7 separate regions of the Homo sapiens genome follow, and all the other regions are linked to region 2. Evidence: promoter capture Hi-C in human tissues and cell types (Jung and others, 2019). All regions are on one chromosome and are shown on one strand. The core of a region is centred on a gene start or on the middle of the fragment in contact, and the rest is flanking DNA. Distances in the headings are between cores, read along the strand shown. Region 1 holds the start of EIF6 (eukaryotic translation initiation factor 6). Region 2 holds the start of RBM39 (RNA binding motif protein 39). Region 3 has its middle 11 kb from the start of NORAD. Region 4 has its middle 12 kb from the start of EPB41L1. Region 5 has its middle 36 kb from the start of NORAD. Region 6 has its middle 4.8 kb from the start of MIR1289-1. Region 7 overlaps UQCC1 (ubiquinol-cytochrome c reductase complex assembly factor 1).

Region 1 (2,700 bases), core at 1-2,500, 460 kb after region 2:
GATGCCCTAAAGAGGACTGAGTGGGTCTGAGGTGAATGAGTGAGGAAGAGCAGAGTATGTGGATACCCGGAAACACACACACACACACATCATCATTATCATCATCATCATTGTCGTCGTCATCATCTTGCTGAGTCATCATCATCATCATCATCATTGTCGTCGTCATCATCTTGCTGAGTGTCTCTTGAAGTACAGGCTGTGACAGGTTGTGGGCCATTTTCCTGAACTCACCACTTACCCGGGATAGTAAACATGATACACATCAATAAAGGCAGACTTTATTGTGAATCACAGCGCCTGGTGTATCCTGAACTTTGAGGAGTTATGGGAGGGACACGTTGGGGGAATGGGAAGGGCACCATTCAGGCCAATTATGGGGAAACCCCTGGAGGAGGGTGAATGCCGAAGGAGGAATTGGGGGAGTCCAGGGGCTCCAAGTTACCACTGTGACATTTTGAGAGAACCCGGGGCTTTTGCAGATTCTACAAAATGTGGGCCAAGTTCATCCTGTCCAAGTGTGCAGCAGGGCCCTTGGCCCCCATCACTATCCTGGGGACAGAAGTTGGCTGCTGAGTGAGTGATAGAGGCCGTGCGAGAGGCACATCGTGGAAGCCAACCAGCACCCACATCCTTGCCCACCCTGGACCCCTTTCCAGCCTTTTCCTGAGCCCCTGCTTCCTCAGTCCTCCCCTCTCTCCAGCACCTGCAGCCTGGCTGCCTTTCCGTCTCTGGCTGCGCTCTTTCTCCAGCCTCGGTCTGGCCGCACTTCTGCCTCCTGGAACTCTCTCCATGGGTAGCCTCTTCTAGTCCACCCGTCTTCAGCCCCTCATCTCATTCGTCAGCACTCCACTCCCCTGCTGGGCTCCAGACATGGACTTCTGTCCCTCAAGGCACAGCTGGACTCATCCCTTTCCCCAAACCTGCCCTTCCTCCGGCTTCATTTCCATCAATACCTCCATCATCAACCCTTCCGCGAGACACTCCTGGCCCCTCCTCTCCCTCATGCCTCACAACCGACCAGCCGGAGGTCTAGGTCGATGACAGCTCCTAAAAAGCTCCTGAATGAATAATGAATGAATGAACGCGAGCAGGCTAGGCGTGGGGCCAGGCGGGGTCGCGCCCAGACCGCTCGCGACCATAGAGTCCGCCGGAGGCCGGAGGTAGAGGGGCTGGATGCGTGGCGGGGAGCGCCGGGCTCTCCCGGAAGTCTCCCTGGACGGAAGTGGAAACGGAAACCTTTTTAGGGAGTCCAAGGTACAGTCGCCGCGTGCGGAGCTTGTTACTGGTTACTTGGTAAGCTGGTGTGAGGGGAACCTGGGAGGGTCAGCTCCGGTCCTGGGTCGGGAGGGGTGGGGGCCAGAGGATTCAGGGCCGGAGGTTCTGGTGGGGGCCCAGTGGGCGGGACCCGAGGACGGAGGGGCCGGGAGGCCGAGAGGGGCGGGGTCGCGGCGGGGCCTGAGGGACGGAGGCCGGGATACTTGGGAAAGGATCCGCCGGCCTTGAACTCCCGCCTCCGCCGCCCCTAGGCCTCATGGCGGTCCGAGCTTCGTTCGAGAACAACTGTGAGATCGGCTGCTTTGCCAAGCTCACCAACACCTACTGTCTGGTAGCGATCGGAGGCTCAGAGAACTTCTACAGGTGCGGCGGGAGCCCCGGGGCTTACGGTGGCGGGGAGGCGTGCGCAGGAGTCAAGAGCTCCGGCAGTGGGAGGGTGCCGGCCCCTCTGCCCCGCCACCACCGAGTCCATGTCCCTACAGTGTGTTCGAGGGCGAGCTCTCCGATACCATCCCCGTGGTGCACGCGTCTATCGCCGGCTGCCGCATCATCGGGCGCATGTGTGTGGGTAAGGCAGGTGGAGGACGCCGAGGGAGGGAGTGGTCTCCAAGCACCATTAATTACACCCCCGGAGGGAACCCGGAGTGACCTAGGGATTCCCAGGGTATCATCTGTTATCTCTGGGCACTATAGAATCTCTCAGGCCAAGCGTCAGGAGATCGGGGCAACCCTCTAGCAAAGGCTGCTGGATAATAGTAATAACAAATAATGTAAAGTGCTTTCACTCCTGTTCTCATTCCTTCGTCACAAAGACACTAGAAGGTAGGAGTTACTGGCCTAACTTGACTGATGAGGAAGTTGAGACTTGACCTAAGTGACTCAGTAAGTTCCACACCTAGTTCCTAGTGTTGGAGAAGGATTTTTCTCTTTTTTTTTTTTTTTTGAGGCCAGATTTTTGCTCTTTCGCCCAGGCTGGAGTGCAGTGGCAAGATCACAGCTGTCTGCATCCTCAACTTCTTAGGCTCAAGTGATCCTCCCACCTCAGCCTACCAGGTAGCTAGGGCCACAGGCACGTGCCACCACACCTGGCTAATTTTTACATTTTTGGTAGAGACGCGGCCTCCCTGTGTTGCCCAGCCTGGCCTTGATCTCCTGGGCTCAAGTGATCTTCTTACCTTGGTCTCTTAAAGTGTTGGGATTATAGGCGAGAGCCACTATACCCAGCCGAGGATTTGTATCTCATCTCTCCCTGCCACTGACTGGGCAAGGTGCTTTCTCTTTCTAAGCATCCATTTCTGTCTCTGTAAAGATTAGCTAAGATATGCGGTCTTCCTGCTCAGTTACGTTGGAATCTTAAATTCCCTTTACCACATCTCTACCCTACCTTCCTACCTGTCAGCACTGTTAATTCTGGTCGTTGGT
Region 2 (2,909 bases), core at 386-2,885:
GTCAGGTCTTGAACTCCTGACCTCAGGCGGTCCACCCGCGTCGGCCTCCCAAAGTGCTGGGATTAGATGCATGAGCCACTGCGCCCAGCCTCCAGAGCGAGACTGTCTCAGAAATAAAATAAAAAGAGGATCTGAATTTTCAGAAAAAGGATTAAGGGAGTATTCTAACTACAAAATAACTGTTATTAATAATCCTCTAAGATAAATCCTAACCTGTGTGTAAAGTTAACCTGAGAGGCAAAACCACTTAACATCTATATTTGCTCTAAATAATTTTGTTTAGCAGAAACAGAAGTTAGCTGTTTTGAAGATCAAATATTTACCAGGCGTTTTACAGACATTATATCATTTAATCTTCACTATAGCCCTTCTGAGCCTTCATTCATTAATTTACTGAGGGTCCACTTGGGCAGACATGCCCTGCTAACCTCTAAAAATTCAGTACTGAGCATTACCTGCCTTCCTCAGTCTCAAGTAGCTTAGACTAGCTACTAAGTACGTCCTCTTTTAAATCAGGAAATGAAAGATCCCCTCTGAGAGGTTAATTTGCTTGTCCAAGGTCACACAGTGTTGCAGCAGCTAGTTACACTAATCAAGGCGTCTCATTTCCAATCTTTTCTGCCCTCAATCATTAGACTGTTAAGATTAGAGGGTAAGATTTTTGCTTTGAAGACTTCTTTCCAGTTTTTTTTCCCAGCATCTAGGAGGAAACCTCACACAGTACTGACCAAAGAACAAATGGCTAATTCATACTCTAATTACCTGGCATCTAGAAGACTTCAGGGGAGAGGAGCCAGGTCCCAGGGGGAAGGGGGCCTTTTTTTTTTTGTTGGGGGGGTGTCTTATTTTTTCACCAAATCGTCCAGTAATATTCAGGAAGGGGAACATTTTTGAAGGAACGGTAGCAACCCTGACACAAGAGCTGATTAAATTCGGGGCACAAAACTGATCCCATGCCAAGGGAAGCAAGAGTTTATTTTTTCCACCTTTTTTTTGCTTTTCTCCACTATTTCCAAGGTTGTTTCAAAGCTCGACAGTGGAGGCCGCGCCATTGGCTCCAAATGACAGGGAAATCTATTTTTATTATCTCCCCCTCTCCCCCTACCCCTAAAGATCTCTTCTTCTGGCCTTCTGATACACTTTTCCACTTCCTCTCCACCCTCAGCGGATAATCTGAATATGGCCGTTTTATCCTATCGCCATAAGGACTAGGTTGCCTTATGGCGACCTTGACAGCCATCTGTGTGGGAGGCCGGAGCGGGGGCGATCGGCTGTGCCGGAGGAATCTTCAGATGGCCGTGAGGAGGCGCCACGAGGGGGAGGTGACCGCTGAGCTCCACTCAGCGAAGAGCTCTCTGAAAGATTGACAGGCAGCCTACCAACTGTCTTTGCCCTAGAGACCCGCTCTGTCTCGCGAGATTTGGGTGCTTACGCGGAGGGGGAGTGAAAGGCGCCTCACTGAATGGGGGATGGGAATATCTGTGGCGCAATCATTGCGCGAGATTGGGCTACGGTCGCCGGAGCCATACTTAGGTCTCGCGATACTTCGGCCGCTCAAATTTGGAGCTTGGGGCAGCTTCTCGCGAGAGCCCGTGCTGAGGGCTCTGTGAGGCCCCGTGTGTTTGTGTGTGTGTATGTGTGCTGGTGAATGTGAGTACAGGGAAGCAGCGGCCGCCATTTCAGGGAGCTTGTCGACGCTGTCGCAGGGGTGGATCCTGAGCTGCCGAAGCCGCCGTCCTGCTCTCCCGCGTGGGCTTCTCTAATTCCATTGTTTTTTTTAGATTCTCTCGGGCCTAGCCGTCCTTGGAACCCGATATTCGGGCTGGGCGGTTCCGCGGCCTGGGCCTAGGGGCTTAACAGTAGCAACAGAAGCGGCGGCGGCGGCAGCAGCAGCAGCAGCAGCAGCAATCTCTTCCCGAACACGAGCACCACAGGCGCCCGAAGGCCGGAACAGGTACGGGGCGTTGCGGACCCGCGTATTATCTCAGCTTTCTCGAGGTTTGGCTCCATTTTGGGCTGAGGGGCGCTTTTGGAGGTCTTTAGCGACCGGGGTGGGGGGTGGTTTTCGAGAAATCGGCCCTGTTTCAGTGACCGCGCCCTTATTTTCCAGTCGGGTATAGTCTGGATTCTTGGGGCGGTAGGGACCCCCGAGAGGCCGCGGTAGAATGGTGACCTGTCTCCTTCGAGGCCTGGGCCGGCCGCGACCTCCCAACATGGCGCCAGTTGAACGCTGCCTTGGCTCATAACCCCTCCCAATGGAGGGAGTTTCTCTTTGCCCCTAAAATGGCAGCGCGGGTTTTTGCCCGGAAAGAGGCGCTCTCGTTCGGGTCTCCCAGTTTCTGTTTTTGGAGTTGACAGCAGAGTTTTAAATATTGGATATTGAAGTCTTCATTTTCGTGTGTTTCGTGTAAGAGGCGTTTTGGATTTACTTACGTAAGCCAAACCTGGTTAAAGTGCATGTCACTTTAGTCATTAATTGTAGGGCTTTTGGAGGTTTTTCTTAAGTTTTCGAGTGTGTCGGCTGAGAAGAAAAATTCAGTCGATTTGAAAAACGTTTACCAGGCCGGGCGCGGTGGCTCACGCCTGTAATCCCAGCAGTTTGGGAGGCAGAGGCAGGCGGATCACTTGAGGTTAGGAGTTCGAGACCAACCTCATCAACATGGTGAAACCCCGTCTCTACCAAAAATACAAAAATTAGCCGGGCGTGGTGGCAGGCGCCTGTGATCCCAGCTATTCGGGAGGTGAGGTGGTAGGATCGCTGGAACCTGGGAGGCGGAGCTTGCAGTGAGCCGAGATCGCGCTACTGCACTTCAGCCTGGGCAACTAGAGCGAAACTCCGTCTCAAAAAAAAAAAAAAAAAAAAAGAAAAATGTTTACTCACGGAATCGTCTTGTTCTTTTCCTAGGCGT
Region 3 (2,838 bases), core at 321-2,820, 320 kb before region 2:
CTGACTATGCTCTCAGACACCCACTGCTTCTAGTCTTCTAGTTAGGCAAAGTTGGCTAAGTCAGTTGACATCAAGTCTCAGTTTCTCCATCTGAGAAGGAAACGTTTGGCTTTATCTCACACATTTTATGGGGATCAAACATTATTGTATGTAGAAAATATTTTGTGAAGTGTAACAAACTATAAAATGGAGGGGGAGGAGAATGTGACTGATCATTTGTTGTGCATCTGTTTCACAGTCTGCAGGAGTTCTGACAGCATTCCTCTGAGTCAGGGCTAGTGTCCTCTTGTACAGATGAAGAGATAGTCTTCAAGGAATATGTTGACTTAACCAAAGTCACAGGCTTGCCAGAGTTAGAATGTAGAACTCTCTGACCTCTAAGACCAATCTCTTACACTGTTTGGCAAAGTGTGGCTTGGGTCCCACCAAGGCAGGGCAGGTGATCCCAATTGGGGCTTAGCCCAGGAGGGTTCTTGACTTGAAAGAATTCAAGGGTAAGTCAGTGATGTCAGATAGTAACTTTTATTGAAGTGGCAGTGTTCGGCAGCAGCAGACGTACTGCTTCTTGTGGAGCAGGGTTACCCCATAGGCAGTGTGCCTAGAGTAGCAGCTCAAACGCAGTTCTGCAGTCATATTTATACCCACTTTTATTTACATGCAAATTCAGGGGCAGATTATGCAGAAATTTCTAGGAAAAAGGTGGTAACTTCTTGGTCTTGGGTCACTACCATGGAAAGGGCAGTAACCTCTGAGTGTTGCCATGGCAATGGTAAACTGGCATGGCACACTGGTGGGCATGTCTTATGGAAAGCTTCTTCTACCCCATCCCTGCTTTAGCTAGTCCTCAATTTGGTCCAGTGTCTGAACCCCACCTCCAGACTCGAGTCCTGCCTCCTACCTCACTAGTGGTCATAATACGATGATTTCAGGTGGAACCCAGATGAACATTTTTTAAAACCAGGTTATGTCATAGTTTTTATTTTTAAGTATAGAGCCGGCTTACTCATACTACAAAAGTCCTACATTTCACACAGCCAGGGTGTAGTAGGCTGAATAATGGCCACCCAAATATATCAAGTCCTAATCTCTGGAAACTACTGTAAACATTACTTTATTTGAGAAAATAATTTTTGCAGATGTGATTAAGAATGTTGAGATGAGGATATCATTGAGGATTAGCCAAGTGGGCCCTAAATTCCATCACACATATCCTTATAAGAGAGAGGGAAAGGAAGATTAGACCAACACACACAGAAGAAGAGGAAGCAATGTGACCATGGAGGCAGAGACTGATGTGGCCACAAGCCAAGGATTGTTGGCAGCCACCAGAAGTTGGAAGAGGCAGACGGATTCTTCCCCAGAGCATCTGGAGGGAATACAGCCTTGCCAACACATTGACTTCAGCTCAGTGAAACTCATGTTCAATTTATGGCCTCCAGAACTATGAGAGAATAAATTTCTGTTGTTTTAAGCTACCAGGCTTGTAGTAATTTGTTTTGGCACCCACAGGAAACAAATAAATGGATCTACATGACTTCAAAATTCATGCCTCTTTTTTTCTCTTTTTATTATTTATTTATTTATTTTGAGACAGAGTCTCGCTCTGTTGCACAGGCTGGAGTGCAGTGGCGTGATCTCGGCTCACTGCAACCTCTGCCTCATGGATTCAAGTAATTCTCATGCCTCAGCCTTCCAAGTAGCTGGGATTACAGGCATGCGCCACCACGCCTGGCTAATTTTTGTATTTTTAGTACAGATGGGGTTTCACCATGTTAGCCAGGCTGGTCTCAAACTCCCAACCTCAGGTGATCCACCCACCTCGGCCTCCCAAAGTACTGGGATTATAGGCATGAGCCACCGCACCCAGCCTTCTCTCTTTTTAAAATAAACTTATTATTTTAAAATAATTTTACATTTACAGAAAATAAATGTAAGTCTTTGATTTAGAGTACAGAAATTTCCCATTGTGTTAGGGCTCACCAGAGAAAGAGAACCAATACGGTGTGTGTGTGCATAAAAGAGATTTATCATAAAGAATTGGCTTACCTAATTATGAAGGCTGGCAAGCCCGAATCCCACAGTGTGGGCCTGCAGGCTGATGACCCAGGAGAGCCAATGGTGCAGTTTGAAGGCAGCCTGCCGGAGAATTCCATCTTGCTTAGGGAGGCCAGTCTTTCTGTTTTATTCAGGCCTTCAACTGATCAAATGAGGCCCGCCCACACCCAAGTTCAACCATTTAAATGCTAATATCATCCAAAACCACCCTCCATGTTGACACATGAACTTAACCATCATACTCAAGAGTACAGAGAGTTCCTGTATAGCCCTCACCCTGCTTCCCCTATTATTACCACCTTACATTACTATGGCATTTGTCACAACTAAGAAACCAACACTGGTACATTCCTATGAACTAAATTCCACCTGTTTTCTGCTCCAGAGTCCCTTCTAGGACACCACACTACATTTAGTCATCATGTCCCTTTAGTTTCTTCTGGCTTGTAACAATTACTCAGGCATTTCTTGGTTTTTAAGACCTTGACAGCTTTGAGGAGTACTGGACAGGTATTTTACAGAGTGCCCCTCAATTTGGGTTCATCTGATGCTTTTCTCATAGTTAGACTGGGGTTATGAGTTTGGGGAAACATGTCATAGAGGTAAACTGCTCTTCTCATCAAATCATAGGTACATGTTATTGACATGACTTCATCAGGATACATGTTAGCGACATGACTTGATTACCTGGCCAAGCGAGTGTCTGTCCAGTTTCTCCCCTGGGAAGTTGCTTGTTTTTCCTCCCTTTCCACTCTTTGGAAGCAAGTTACTAAGTGCAGCCCA
Region 4 (2,822 bases), core at 290-2,789, 400 kb before region 2:
GGGTTGGACTAGCGCAGTTCTAAACCTTTTAGGGGGCTGGGCGCAGTGGCTGACGCCTGTAATTCTTACACTCTGGGAGGCCGAGGCGGGCAGATCACCTGAGGTCAGGAGTTTGAGACTAGCCTGGCCAACATGGTGAAACCCCATCTCTACTAAAAATACAAAAATTAGCCAGGGATGGTGGCGTGCGCCTGTAGTCCCAGCTACTTGGGAGGCTGAGGCAGGAGAATCACTTGAACCCGGGAGGCAGAGGTTGCAGTGAGCCAAAATCGCGCCACTGCACTCCAGCCTGGGCAACAGAGCGAGACACTGTCTCAAAAAAAAGAAAAAAGAAAAAAAAAGAAAAAGAAAAAGAAAACCTTTTATCGGTCCTGATTTCCTTTGAAAATGCAATGAAAACTGCAGAGCTTCTCCTAGAAAAATGTACATGGGTATGCACCTGCACACACATACACACACACAAAGTCACACTCACACACACACATACCTACCTTTATCATCTTTCAGGTATCAAGAGAGCTCATGAAGCCCATGCATAGATCACCCCCTGAGTGATAGATAGATAATCCCCTTGGTTAAGACTTGGGCTAGATGATCTCTAATCAGCCACGATAAGAAATTAGCTGTATATGTGTGTATTTTGTATTTTGTATCTAATTTAAAGGAACCCTACATTAAAGACTTCACTAAGACGATGAGCTTTTATGTGGGCTTTTGTGGGACATAGATGTTGATTGGCTAAATGCTGTGCTTCCCCAGAGCCTGCCTCACCCTTGTCATATTGCCTCTGAAGTCACCCTCTCCATTCCACTCTCTCTGCCCTTTTTCAGCAGGGAGTGAGCACACAGTCCTGAAAAATACTGCTACCCCCACTAGCTGTCTCTGTCCCCAGCTATGAGAGGGTAGAAAAGAGCGAGCCTGGTCTGCCTCTCATACTCCCACCCCAAAGCCCTGGCTCAGAGGTCAACCAATCAAGAGGCCCCCAGATGGCACCTCTATCCCCAACACACACACACACACACACACACACACACACACACACACACACAAACACACCCTCCCTCACATAGCCACAACCACAGGACTGCACCTCCAGACACCTGGCGGTGCGGTCACTCGGAACCGGCAGGAGTTATTTTTAGAGGCCAAGTGACAGGATGGTGAGAGCAGTTCCACTCTGTCAGAGTTACTGCTGCCACCACCAGCTCTGATGAATCACTCTCCACTACGTGAATGGACAAGTCTGTCAGCATGGCCACGGAGGCCATGCCAGCTTCTAGAATGAATGTCTTGGATTGGTGACTACGCTGATCACACCAGGCTGAGCCCAGGATCACACCAGGGACAAGACTGCCAGGCCTGAGCCAGTGCAGCCAACCCAGCCCAACTGCCCAGCACAGCCTCCCATAACCAATACAGTCGGGCCAACACAGCACAGCACAGCACAGCCCGGGCAGGTAAGCCCCTTCAACACAGTCCAACCCAGCCCCATCAGGCCACCCAGGGGCCTCTCTTTGCAAAGTCCTTTTAGAGTGGCTATTGATGCCTCCCTCCGCCCAATCCGTGCAAGTGAGCCTCCCACCCACTAAGCTACCGCTGCCGGGTTATTAAGATAATGAGCCGCCAATAAATTGGGCAGATTCAGACAGTGTCAATGCAGCTATCAACTGGTTTCATCTTTCATCGTTGAAAAAGTACATGATAAGCCTTAAAAGTGTGCATACCGTTTAACGCAGAAATTCCTTTTTTAGGAATGGATCCTTAGGGAACAATGAATGACACAAAGATGTGGCTATAAGAACATTTGTCTAAGCACTGTATACAGGAGTAAAGTAGAGCATTGGAGTTAATATATATGTCCAATAATAGTGGCTACGTTATAAAAATAGTGATACATACATATGCTGAAATACTACGCAGCCACACAAAATAATGTTGTGGATCTATATGTGGCTATATAATCATGTTCTTAACACAATACAGGTAAAAAAGCAGAGACAAAATGGTACGTAACAAATGATCCAATTTCTACAAAATACGTTTTTTGTTCTTTTTTCTTTTCTTTTTTTTTTTTTTTGAGATGGAGTTTTTGCTCTATTGCCCAGGCTGAAGTGCAGTGGCATGATCTCGGCTCACTGCAACCTCCGCCTCCTGGGTTCAAGCAATTCTCCCACCTCAGCCTCCCGAGTAATTGGGATTACAGGTGCCCCGCCACCACGCCTGGTTAATTTTTGTATTTTTAGAAGAGACAGGGTTTCACCATGTTGGCCAGGCTGGTCTCGAACTCCTGACCTCAAGTGATCTGTCCACGTCAGCCTCCCAAAGTGCTGGGATTATAGGCGTGAGCCACCGTGCCTGGCCCCAATTTCTATAAAATATGTATGTATGTGTACATGCCTAGAAAAAAGCAAACAGGAAATATTTTAAAACATGTTACCAGACGTTGTTTTATGATAGTGGAATTATTTCTTTTGTGTACATTTGGGTCTTGTTTTGTTGCTTACTTTCTGGTATATATGTGTAAACATATTTATATAAGAAAGGTCTGTTACCTTCACCTCTCTCAAAGCTTCTGGCCTGAACCATTGAAGGTCCCTCCTAGAATCTCACTAGAGCCCCCACCTTTCAGCAACCACAGCCCCCCTTGGGCTGCCTCTCTGGCTTTGAACTTTGCTGCCCTCTTCAGTTGTTCCCTGGAGTTTCACTAATGGGGCCCATCTAGCCAATTCCCACAGTCTCCTGACACAGGCCCTCACAGCGGAAGTACCCTCCAGGGCTCCCTATTCATGCATAGAAACCTAACAGAGTCCCATTCCCTCATC
Region 5 (2,727 bases), core at 194-2,693, 340 kb before region 2:
TAGCTGGGCGTGGTGGCACATGCCTGTAATCCCAACTATTTGGGAGGCTGAATGTCTTGAATCTGGGAGGTGGAGGTTGCAGTGAGCCAAGATCACACCACTGCGCTCCAGCCTAGGCAGCAAGAGTGAAACTCTGTCTAAAAAAAAAAAAAAACAAAAAGGGGCCAAGTGTGATGGCTCACACCTGTAATCCCAGCACTTTGGGAGGCCGAGGCAGGCAGATCACCTGAGGCCAGGAGTTTGAGACCAACCTGGCCAGCATGGTGAAACCCTGTCTCTACTAACAACACAAAAAAATTAGCCAGGCTTGGTGGCTCATGCCTGTAAGTCCCAGCTACTCGGGAGGCTGAGACATGAGAATTGCTGAACCTGGGAGGCGGAGGTTGCAGTGAGCTGAGATTGTACCACTGCACTCTAGCCTGGGCAACACAGTGAGACTCGGTCTCAAAAAAAAAAAAAAAAAAAAGAGAATTCCATCACATCACCTCCAGTGGGGGGATATCCAGGAAGACAATTTCAGCTCACTATAAAGAACTCCCTAACAGTTGGAGCTACCCAAGAATGGAATGGACCACCTTGGGAGTGATGAACTCCTTGTCAATATATGTATTCAAGGAAAGATTAAGTCTTCATTGGGAAATTGAACTAGGATCCTGGTGACCTCTCAAGTTGAAAAAATGGGCAAGTTCTATTAGGAAGGGAAAGACAAGATCAAAGCTGTGCTTCCAGACAATTATGTGACTGTATGTGTAGAAGAAATGGGTGGGGAGGGATCAGAGGCAGGCAGGACCAGTAGGAAACCACTGCAGTGGTCCAGGAGATAAAAGAATAGACTGGGGCTGGGCACGGTGATTCATGCCTGTAATCCCAGCACTTTGGGAGGCCGAGGAGGGTGGATCACAAGGTCAGGAGTTCAAGACCAGCCTGGCAAACATGGTGAAACCCTGTCTCTACTAAAAATACAAAAAAATTAGCCAGGCATGGTGGTGGGTGCCTGTAATCCCAGCCACTTGGGAGGCTGAGGCAGAGAATTGCTTGAACCCGGGAGGCGGAGGTTGCAGTGAGCCGAGATCACACCACTGCACTCCAGCCTGGGCGACAGAGCGAAACTCGTCTCAAAACAAAACAAAACAAAACAAAAAACAAAAAAAAAGAATAGACTGGGAGGCCATGGGAATGGAAAGCCAATGCAAGTGTGACTTGAAAGAGGCACTGGCACTAGGCTGGTAGTCAGGAGCTGCAGGTTCTAGTCCTGCCCCTGCCATTAACTTATTGTGTAGTCTCAGGTAAATCCCAGCCCTTGAGTAGATCCCTTCCTTTATTCAAATTTCAGAGATCCCATCTGTAAAATGCAGAATGATCTGCAATATCCTTCCTAACTCTGGATTCTGTGAATGGGAGAGAGATAATGAAGGATAACTGGGATGATGTATTAGAAAGCCTTCATACACTTCAAAGTAATAATATCATTAGTACAAGTACCATTGTTATTATTATTTCAAAGGCAGCCTCACCAGAACGTGGTGACTGGACTGGTAGGAGGGGACAGGACAGAGTCAAGTGGCCTGCATCTGTGGGTGGACAAGACACCAGGATCTCTGATCTTTTGGGAAGGTCAGCTAACCACTGTATCCCTCCCCCAAGATCTGTGAAGACAAACAGTATTCTGTGCCCTGTCACCTCATTAACTGCTTCCTCATTCCTTTGAGCCACACCTTATACTTGGCTAAAAGAAGCAACCAATTCTAAGAAAAGTTAGCCTCTGTACTCCCTCCTTTCAATGTTCAAAAATGGGTCCTCGTCTGGGACTTTCCCTATATAATAATAAGTTTCATCATCTCATATAGGAATAGCCAACATTATTGAGTACTTAGTATATGTTAGGAAATTTATTTACATAATTTTCTCACCCTGGGAGGTAGCTGTAATGGCTTATGAAGATCTATAACTTTCTCAGTCACATAGCTTATGAGAAGGATTCCAGTACAAGTCTGTGCGATTTCAAGGCTGCATTCTTAAAGATTTTTTTTTTTTTTTTTTTTTGAAATGGAGTCTTGCTCCATCACCCTGGCTGGAGTGCAGTAGCACTATCTTTGCCCACTGCAACCTCCATCTCCCGGGTTCAAGCGATTCTCATGTCTCAGCCTCCCAAGTAGCTGGGATTACAGGTGCCTGCCACCATGCCTGGCTAATTTTTGTATTTTTAGTAGAGATGGGGTTTCACCATGTTGGCCAGGCTGGTCTCGAACTCTTAACCTCAGGTGATCTGCCTGCCTCAGCCTCCCAAAGTGCTGAGATTACAGCCGTGAGCCACCCTGCCCGGCACCCTAAAGATTTTTACTATGTCTTTTTGTAGCAACTTAGGGAGGAGGGCAAGATCAGTGTTGTTGCCACTTTATAGCTGGGGAAACTGAAGCTCAGAGAAGGTAAATTCTGTCATTTGGACAAATTAGTAAAGTCTTCTATGGTGCAGTTTGGTGCTGTTTCTACTTCTCAGAGCTTCCTCCTCTGCACCTTCCAGGACCTCCCCAGTCCTCCTAGGAGTGATGAGTAGAGACTTGCCCAGACTACTTAAGGGAAGGACTTACACTTGTCCTTCTCCTGGGGAAGGGAAAGGTTCCTGAAAGGTGAAAGTTAATTTCCACCTCCCCTCCCCACCCACCAACTCACACACCCTAAACCAGGACCTTGTGGTGACCCGCGCTGAAGGCTTACAGAGTGAGTCAT
Region 6 (2,797 bases), core at 15-2,514, 290 kb after region 2:
GGAACTGCAGGAGAGGGGCCAGTAGGGAACCCCTGAAGAGTGTATAAAAGCACCCCATGATGCTTTGATGATGGATAGAGATGGCTATAAACATCTGCGAGGCCCAGAAAGCACTAAGCCAGCTATTACACTGGTTCAAAGAAGACTTTTCCCACCCCCATCTTCCTCTCCATGTTAACATGGAGACATGTTGAGTGACTAAAGTGAGCTGAGGATGACAGAGAGGGAAAAATAGAGGGAAAAAAAGTCAACCACTTTCCTCTTTCTTTCTCACTGCAAGGTAACAGTCTGGAGCACCAAAACGATAGTCTCTTGCTGCTGTTCCTCTGAGTCCATTCTTTTTTTTTTTTTTTACAGAGTCTCACTTTGTAGCCCAGGCTGGAGTGCAGTGGCACGATCTTGGCTCATTGCAACCTCCGCCTCCTGGGTTCAAGTGATCCTCGTGCCTCAGCCTCCTGAGAAGCTGGGATTACAGGCGCCCACCACCACCACACCCAGCTTTTTTTTTTTTTTTCAGTAGAGATGGGGTTTCACCATGTTAGCGAGGCTGGTCTTGAATTCCTGACCTCAAGTGATCCGCCCACCTCGGCTTCCCAAAGTGCTGGGATTACAGGCGTGAGCCGCGACGCCCGGCCCATTCTCTCTCTCTCTCTTTTTTTTTTTTTAAGAGACAGGGTTTTGCTCTTTCACTCAGGTTGGAGTGCAGTGATTTGATCATAGCTCACTGCAGCTTCAATCTCCTGGGCTCAAGCGATCCTCCTGGCTCAGCCTCCCGAGTAGCTAAGACTATAGGCCTGTGCCACCAGTCCTGGCTAATTTGTTTAAAAATTTTTTTGTAGAGATGGGGACTCACTGTGTTGTCCAGGTTGGTCTTGAATTCCTGGCATCAAGCAATGTTCCTACTTTAGCCTCCCAAAGTGCTGGGATTATAGGCTTGAGCTGCCGCGCTGAAGTTCCATTCATTCATTATTTTTAAAATATTGATTGAGCACCTACTGTGTGCCAAAAGTTGAGTTATGCACTGGGAGGGACCCAAAGAACAATAATAAATGAACTCTGTCCAGAGCCTCTGTTCACAAACTCACATGGCAGGCAAGCAAGTAAAGAAATAGTTCACACACACACAGTGTAGTAAATTCTATAAAGAGGGAGCAGCTGGCTACACAGCATCAGGCCACTATGACTTGTTTGTGAAGGATAAAAACGCTAAAATTAGCCAGGTGTGGTGGTGCACTACTGTAGTCCCAACTATTCTGGAGGCTGAGGTAGGAAGGATCGCTTGAGCCCAGGAGGTTGAGGCTGCAGTGAGCTGTGTTCAAGCCACTGCACTCCAACCTGGGCAACACAGCAAGACCCTGTCTCAAAAAAAAAAAATGCTAAGCAGACAAGCCAGGCATGGTGGCATGTGGCTGTAGTCCCACCCACTCAAGAGGCTGAGTCAGAAGAACCTCTTGAGCTTAGGAGTTTGAGACCAGCCTGGGCAGCATAGCAAGACCCCATCTCAAAAAAAAATGCTAAGCAAAGTGGCAGGGGTGGGGTGGTGGCGGGGATTCCAAGCAGCATGTGCAAAGGCACAGCAGCATGCTAGAGCATGGGATGTGTTAGGAATGCCGGACACTCCTCTTGCTGATGCCACCATCTGGTTGAATTGTGTCAATCTCCCTAGTTGGATTCCCTTTGTCAGCTGGATATTTTCTCCCTGGTCCTGACCCCGCCTCAGTAGGCAGTTCTTATTCCAGTCCTAGCCCCCTCTCACTCACTAAGTCAGGCTCGAAGTGACCAGCGTACCCAAGCTTGAGATTCTTGAAGTGGATGACATCTTTTCACTATCACTCAGGGCTTGGGCAATAAAGGATGTCCAGTCACAGTTCCCACAGGACCAGGTCCTCTCCTTCCTCAAAAATGGGCCCTTGGTCAGGCCTGATGGCTCATGCCTGTAATCCCAGCACTTTGGGAGGTGGAGGCAAGTGGATCGCTTGAAGCCAGAAGTTTGAGACCAGCCTGGCCAACATGGCGAAACCCTGTCTCTACTAAAAATACACAAATTAGCCGGGCCTGGTGTCGTGCACCTGTGATCCCAGCTGCTCGGAAGGCTGAGGCACAAGAATCGCTTGAACCTGTGAGGAGGAGGTTACAGTGAGCCAAGATTGCTCCACTGCACTCCAGCCTGGGTGACAGAGTGAGACAAAAAAAAAAAAAAAAAAAAAGTCGGGGGGGCCCTTAACTATATATATATATATATTTTTTTTTTTTTTTTTGAAAAAAACAAAAAGTCCCGTAGCCAGGACTACAGATGTGCACCACCGCGTCCAGCTTGCCTTATGTTCTTGAGCAACCCTCTTTCCCTTTCTGAGCCTCAAATTCCTCAGCTGCAATATGGGGATAACAGTACTTACCAGCTAGGGTTCTTATACACAAAGTGGGAATTAGAATTAGATGGAGGGAAGGAGGAGTGGAGGAGTCCAGCAAGGATCTGAGATTTCTGAGCTCAAGAATGACAACAAGGTTTCCAGTGATTAGAGAGGTTTCCTGTGATTAGAGAGATTGGGGTGTGAGGGGAGAGGGGAACTTTCTCTTTTAACTTTATAAACTTTGGTATTATTTGAATATTTTTACAATGAACATGATTTAATTTTATAATCAAATATATTTGGTATGAATATCATGCATCGATAAAAAGGTGTTTAAATTTTTTTTTTATTTTATAGAGACGGGCTTGTGCCATGTTGCTCAGACTGATCTCCAACTCCTGGGCTCAGGCAGTTTTCCCGCCTCAGCCTCCCAAAGTGCTGGGATT
Region 7 (2,960 bases), core at 322-2,821, 420 kb after region 2:
AAAAGTCCCAGCACTGTCACTTACAAGCAGGATGTGATTTGACTACAAGTGACTTAACGTTTTTGTTTTTGTTTTTGTTTTTGTTTTTTGAGACAGAGTCTTGCTCAGTTGCCAGGCTGGAGTGCAGTGGCACAATCTTGGCTCACTGCAACTTCTGCCTCTCGGGTTCAATGGTTCCCCCGCCTCAGCCTCCTGAGTAGCTGGGACTACAGGTATGCGCCACTATGCCCAGCTAATTTTTTGTATTTTAGTAGACATGGGGTTTCACTATGTTGGCCAGGCTGGTCTCGAACTCCCGACCTCAGGTTATCGGCCCACCTCAGCCTCCCAGAGTGCTGAGATTACAGGCGTGAGCCACCGCACCTGGCCACTTAACAGTTTTGAGCTTCTGTTTCCTTGTTTATAGAATCAGGACAACAATAGCATTTTGGCTGTGAGCTCCTCGAGGGCAGGGTTGTGGTTGTGAGGCACAAATAAGATAATAAAATGAAAATATTATTAAATGCATTGTGTAATCATTGTTACGACCATCACTGTCATCATTATTATCAGTACGGATTTTAGATAGTACCCAGGATTATTTCCTTTAGGACTCCGCACCATCAGTGCTGTTGTTGAAACTGCGACTCTTTCAAGCCAGGTGTTGGCTTCTCTAATGAGTATGCATGAGACTTGTCATGTGGAATACTACAAAAAGCTTCCAGAAACCAAAGTAGATTATAGCTATAATGTTCCCCTTATTCAAATGCCCTAAAAGAGACGAAAGTTAAATTGCCATGGTAGTTTGATCATCCCAGAACCGTAGTGTACCTCATCAGCTCCTTTTGAAGATGATTGTGGACTTAATATTATGTGTTCTCATGTTTTCTCAACTGGACAAATGACTAGAATTTCTGAGGACATACATCTCTTCTCTCTTGGCTATTTTCCAAGCCTGAGGGAAGGACTCCTGTACTTCGTGACTATATAGAAATTAGGGCTGCTGGTTCTGCAATTCTGTCTGCCAACCATGTCCCTTGTTTTTCAGCACATTATCAGGCTATGCAGTCTTGAACATGTAGATCCCAAGCAGCAAAACTAGAATTTTCAAAATAAATAAGAAAGGGGTTTGTATTATTATTACTATGTTGTAGAGACAGGACCTCACTTTTTTGTCCAGGCTAGTCTTGAACTCCTGGCCTCAAGTGATCCACCTGCCTTGGCCTCACAAAGCATGGGGATTATACACGTAAGCCACCTTGCCCAGCCAATAAGGGAATATTTTTAAACAGCATGTCATCATAGCAAGCTTCCCTTGTACATTAAAAGTTTGAAATGTTTAAAATGGATTTTAAAATGGACCTCCTCATGCTGGGTTTAGGTTGGCCTTTCATCGCAACGGGAACATACTCTATTTAAATGTTCACATTATTTTCTAAAAAGAGAAAAAGAAATTGTCTTTCATTTAAAATATTTTTCTTTTTATTCTTGGTATTAACAACTTTTTCTGGAACTGCTCAATATGCATGCGTGCCTGAGCGTGCGCGCGCGCGCGCGCACACACACACACACACACACACACACACACAGTTTTGTTTGTATTTTGTCATCATTGCTAAAAGACCCTCAATAGATCTTTCAGTCGTAATGCATGTGAGTTAACAGGTAGACTTTTTTATTTGGTCTCTCCATGTCCCCCGTCTCTCTTGTCTGTCTACTCTTACTCTGTTTCTAAGTATCTCACAAAATATTCCACAGTGGGCTAATTTCTAACCTGAACTTTAAATAGGCTAGCTGATGTTCAGTGCACATCAGCCTGTTGCCGCACAATGACTGTAGAACATGGCGTTGGCACTGCAAAGCATTGGTGGTGGCATTACTGTCTACTACAGCAAACTAAAACATGACCTACAATCTTGTGTTGCATTGTTGCCTTATGATGAATTTGATATAGTCCTTAGGCTTCAGCCAGCAACTCTAGCTGTCCTTTGTCATTCATTCATTCCAGCAAATTCTTAGTCTGCTACTGTTAGCAACTTTGCTTCAAGCCAGTAACCTTAAAGCTTATTCTCACCTTCATGCTCATCAGTGTTTTCCATACCAACTTTCTTCTGTTTTCCCATTCCCCCACCATAATTACACCCACTCTCAACCTCAGGTTTTCCCAGGAGTGGAGCTTGGCTCTACTAGGGATATCTGATGTATTAGTAACCGGCCACTGATGACCCATCTGGTGGCTGTCTCTAGCTGCCACTGGAACTGGAATCTCTGAGTTGTGTTTACTCAAGACCACATTAGCATTTCTTAGTTCTGCCTCTGCAGATAGCCTGAGCTGTGGGGCACAGGAAGGGGCAGCTACATTCCTTCCAGTGTCTATTCCAACACAGGTAGGCAATGGAGTTGGATTGCTCTGTATTCTTATCTTGACCCCACTATTTCCTAGCTGTCTAGCTTTAACTTTCCCAAACATCAGATTCCTCTTCTCTAAAGTGGAGACAGTAACAGTTCCTGTCTCTTAGAGTCCTTGGGAAGGTTTAAGTGGGCTAATGTGTAAAGTTGTAGCACAGTTATTGGCACTTGGTAAATAATGAATGATGGGACCCGTCTCCAGACTTGAATCACTTTGGGGCACCTGTAGATGGGGGAGAGGGCAGACTTAGTAGAGAAAATATGTGTGCTAAGTCTTAGAGGATAAGGAGTTAGCATCCCTTCCATCAGTGGATAAAGAAGAGAAGAATTCCTGGCAGCAGTATGACTAAGAAATAGATGACAGCATGATGTATCTGTGCACATACTTTACTGACTGCAGGGTGAAGTAAGATGGGGAGGCAAGAGGAGGGGAGGCAAAAAAGATGGCCAAGAGCAGATCACTAGAAGCCTTGTAGAGTCCATGGAGGAGTTAAAACTTGATCTCCCATCAGTCCCTGTATCCACATAGTCTGGTTCCTCTGTTAAGCAGTCACATAAATATCTTTAAGGCA

Evidence for each region. Contacts are between HindIII fragments. The study calls those that stand out against the background at their distance.
Region 1: the fragment with the promoter of EIF6 here is called in contact with the fragment with the promoter of RBM39 in region 2 in 1 of the 25 tissues and cell types used here (dorsolateral prefrontal cortex).
Region 3: a fragment that was not itself captured here is called in contact with the fragment with the promoter of RBM39 in region 2 in 1 of the 25 tissues and cell types used here (neural progenitor cells).
Region 4: a contact is called between a fragment that was not itself captured here and the fragment with the promoter of RBM39 in region 2, in 1 of the 25 tissues and cell types used here (dorsolateral prefrontal cortex).
Region 5: a fragment that was not itself captured here is called in contact with the fragment with the promoter of RBM39 in region 2 in 1 of the 25 tissues and cell types used here (dorsolateral prefrontal cortex).
Region 6: a fragment that was not itself captured here is called in contact with the fragment with the promoter of RBM39 in region 2 in 1 of the 25 tissues and cell types used here (dorsolateral prefrontal cortex).
Region 7: a contact is called between a fragment that was not itself captured here and the fragment with the promoter of RBM39 in region 2, in 1 of the 25 tissues and cell types used here (dorsolateral prefrontal cortex).

Annotation. Positions count from the first base shown.
Region 1 is chr20:35,283,322-35,286,021 of GRCh38, reverse strand. It overlaps EIF6 (eukaryotic translation initiation factor 6), which reads left to right and starts at 1,250. Exons shown (of 7, transcript NM_002212.4): 1 at 1,250-1,296; 2 at 1,530-1,641; 3 at 1,761-1,846. The coding sequence starts at 1,535. It overlaps FAM83C (family with sequence similarity 83 member C), which reads left to right. Exons shown (of 4, transcript NM_178468.6): 4 at 1-291. FAM83C-AS1 (FAM83C antisense RNA 1) reads right to left here and starts at 771. Exons shown (of 2, transcript NR_109815.1): 1 at 707-771; 2 at 250-552. RefSeq lists an enhancer at 688-1,238 and a silencer at 1,331-1,520. The HindIII fragment of the contact is 18,620 bases long and covers 1-2,700 here.
Region 2 is chr20:35,740,986-35,743,894 of GRCh38, reverse strand. It overlaps RBM39 (RNA binding motif protein 39), which reads left to right and starts at 1,635. Exons shown (of 17, transcript NM_184234.3): 1 at 1,635-1,954. RefSeq lists enhancers at 1,196-1,295, 1,466-1,685, 1,047-1,732, 1,746-1,895 and a silencer at 2,156-2,255. The HindIII fragment of the contact is 31,582 bases long and covers 1-2,909 here.
Region 3 is chr20:36,060,436-36,063,273 of GRCh38, reverse strand. No RefSeq gene overlaps it. Among named protein-coding and RNA genes, the nearest start is that of NORAD, 11 kb to the right of the region's middle. The HindIII fragment of the contact is 8,994 bases long and covers 1-2,838 here.
Region 4 is chr20:36,141,365-36,144,186 of GRCh38, reverse strand. It overlaps a transcript of EPB41L1 not described here. Among named protein-coding and RNA genes, the nearest start is that of EPB41L1, 12 kb to the left of the region's middle. RefSeq lists a silencer at 923-972. The HindIII fragment of the contact is 4,923 bases long and covers 1-2,822 here.
Region 5 is chr20:36,085,922-36,088,648 of GRCh38, reverse strand. No RefSeq gene overlaps it. Among named protein-coding and RNA genes, the nearest start is that of NORAD, 36 kb to the right of the region's middle. The HindIII fragment of the contact is 7,451 bases long and covers 1-2,727 here.
Region 6 is chr20:35,447,859-35,450,655 of GRCh38, reverse strand. It overlaps a transcript of GDF5 not described here. Among named protein-coding and RNA genes, the nearest start is that of MIR1289-1, 4.8 kb to the left of the region's middle. The HindIII fragment of the contact is 8,774 bases long and covers 1-2,797 here.
Region 7 is chr20:35,319,861-35,322,820 of GRCh38, reverse strand. All of the region lies in intron 7 of UQCC1 (ubiquinol-cytochrome c reductase complex assembly factor 1), which reads left to right. Among named protein-coding and RNA genes, the nearest start is that of FAM83C, 29 kb to the right of the region's middle. The HindIII fragment of the contact is 3,522 bases long and covers 1-2,960 here.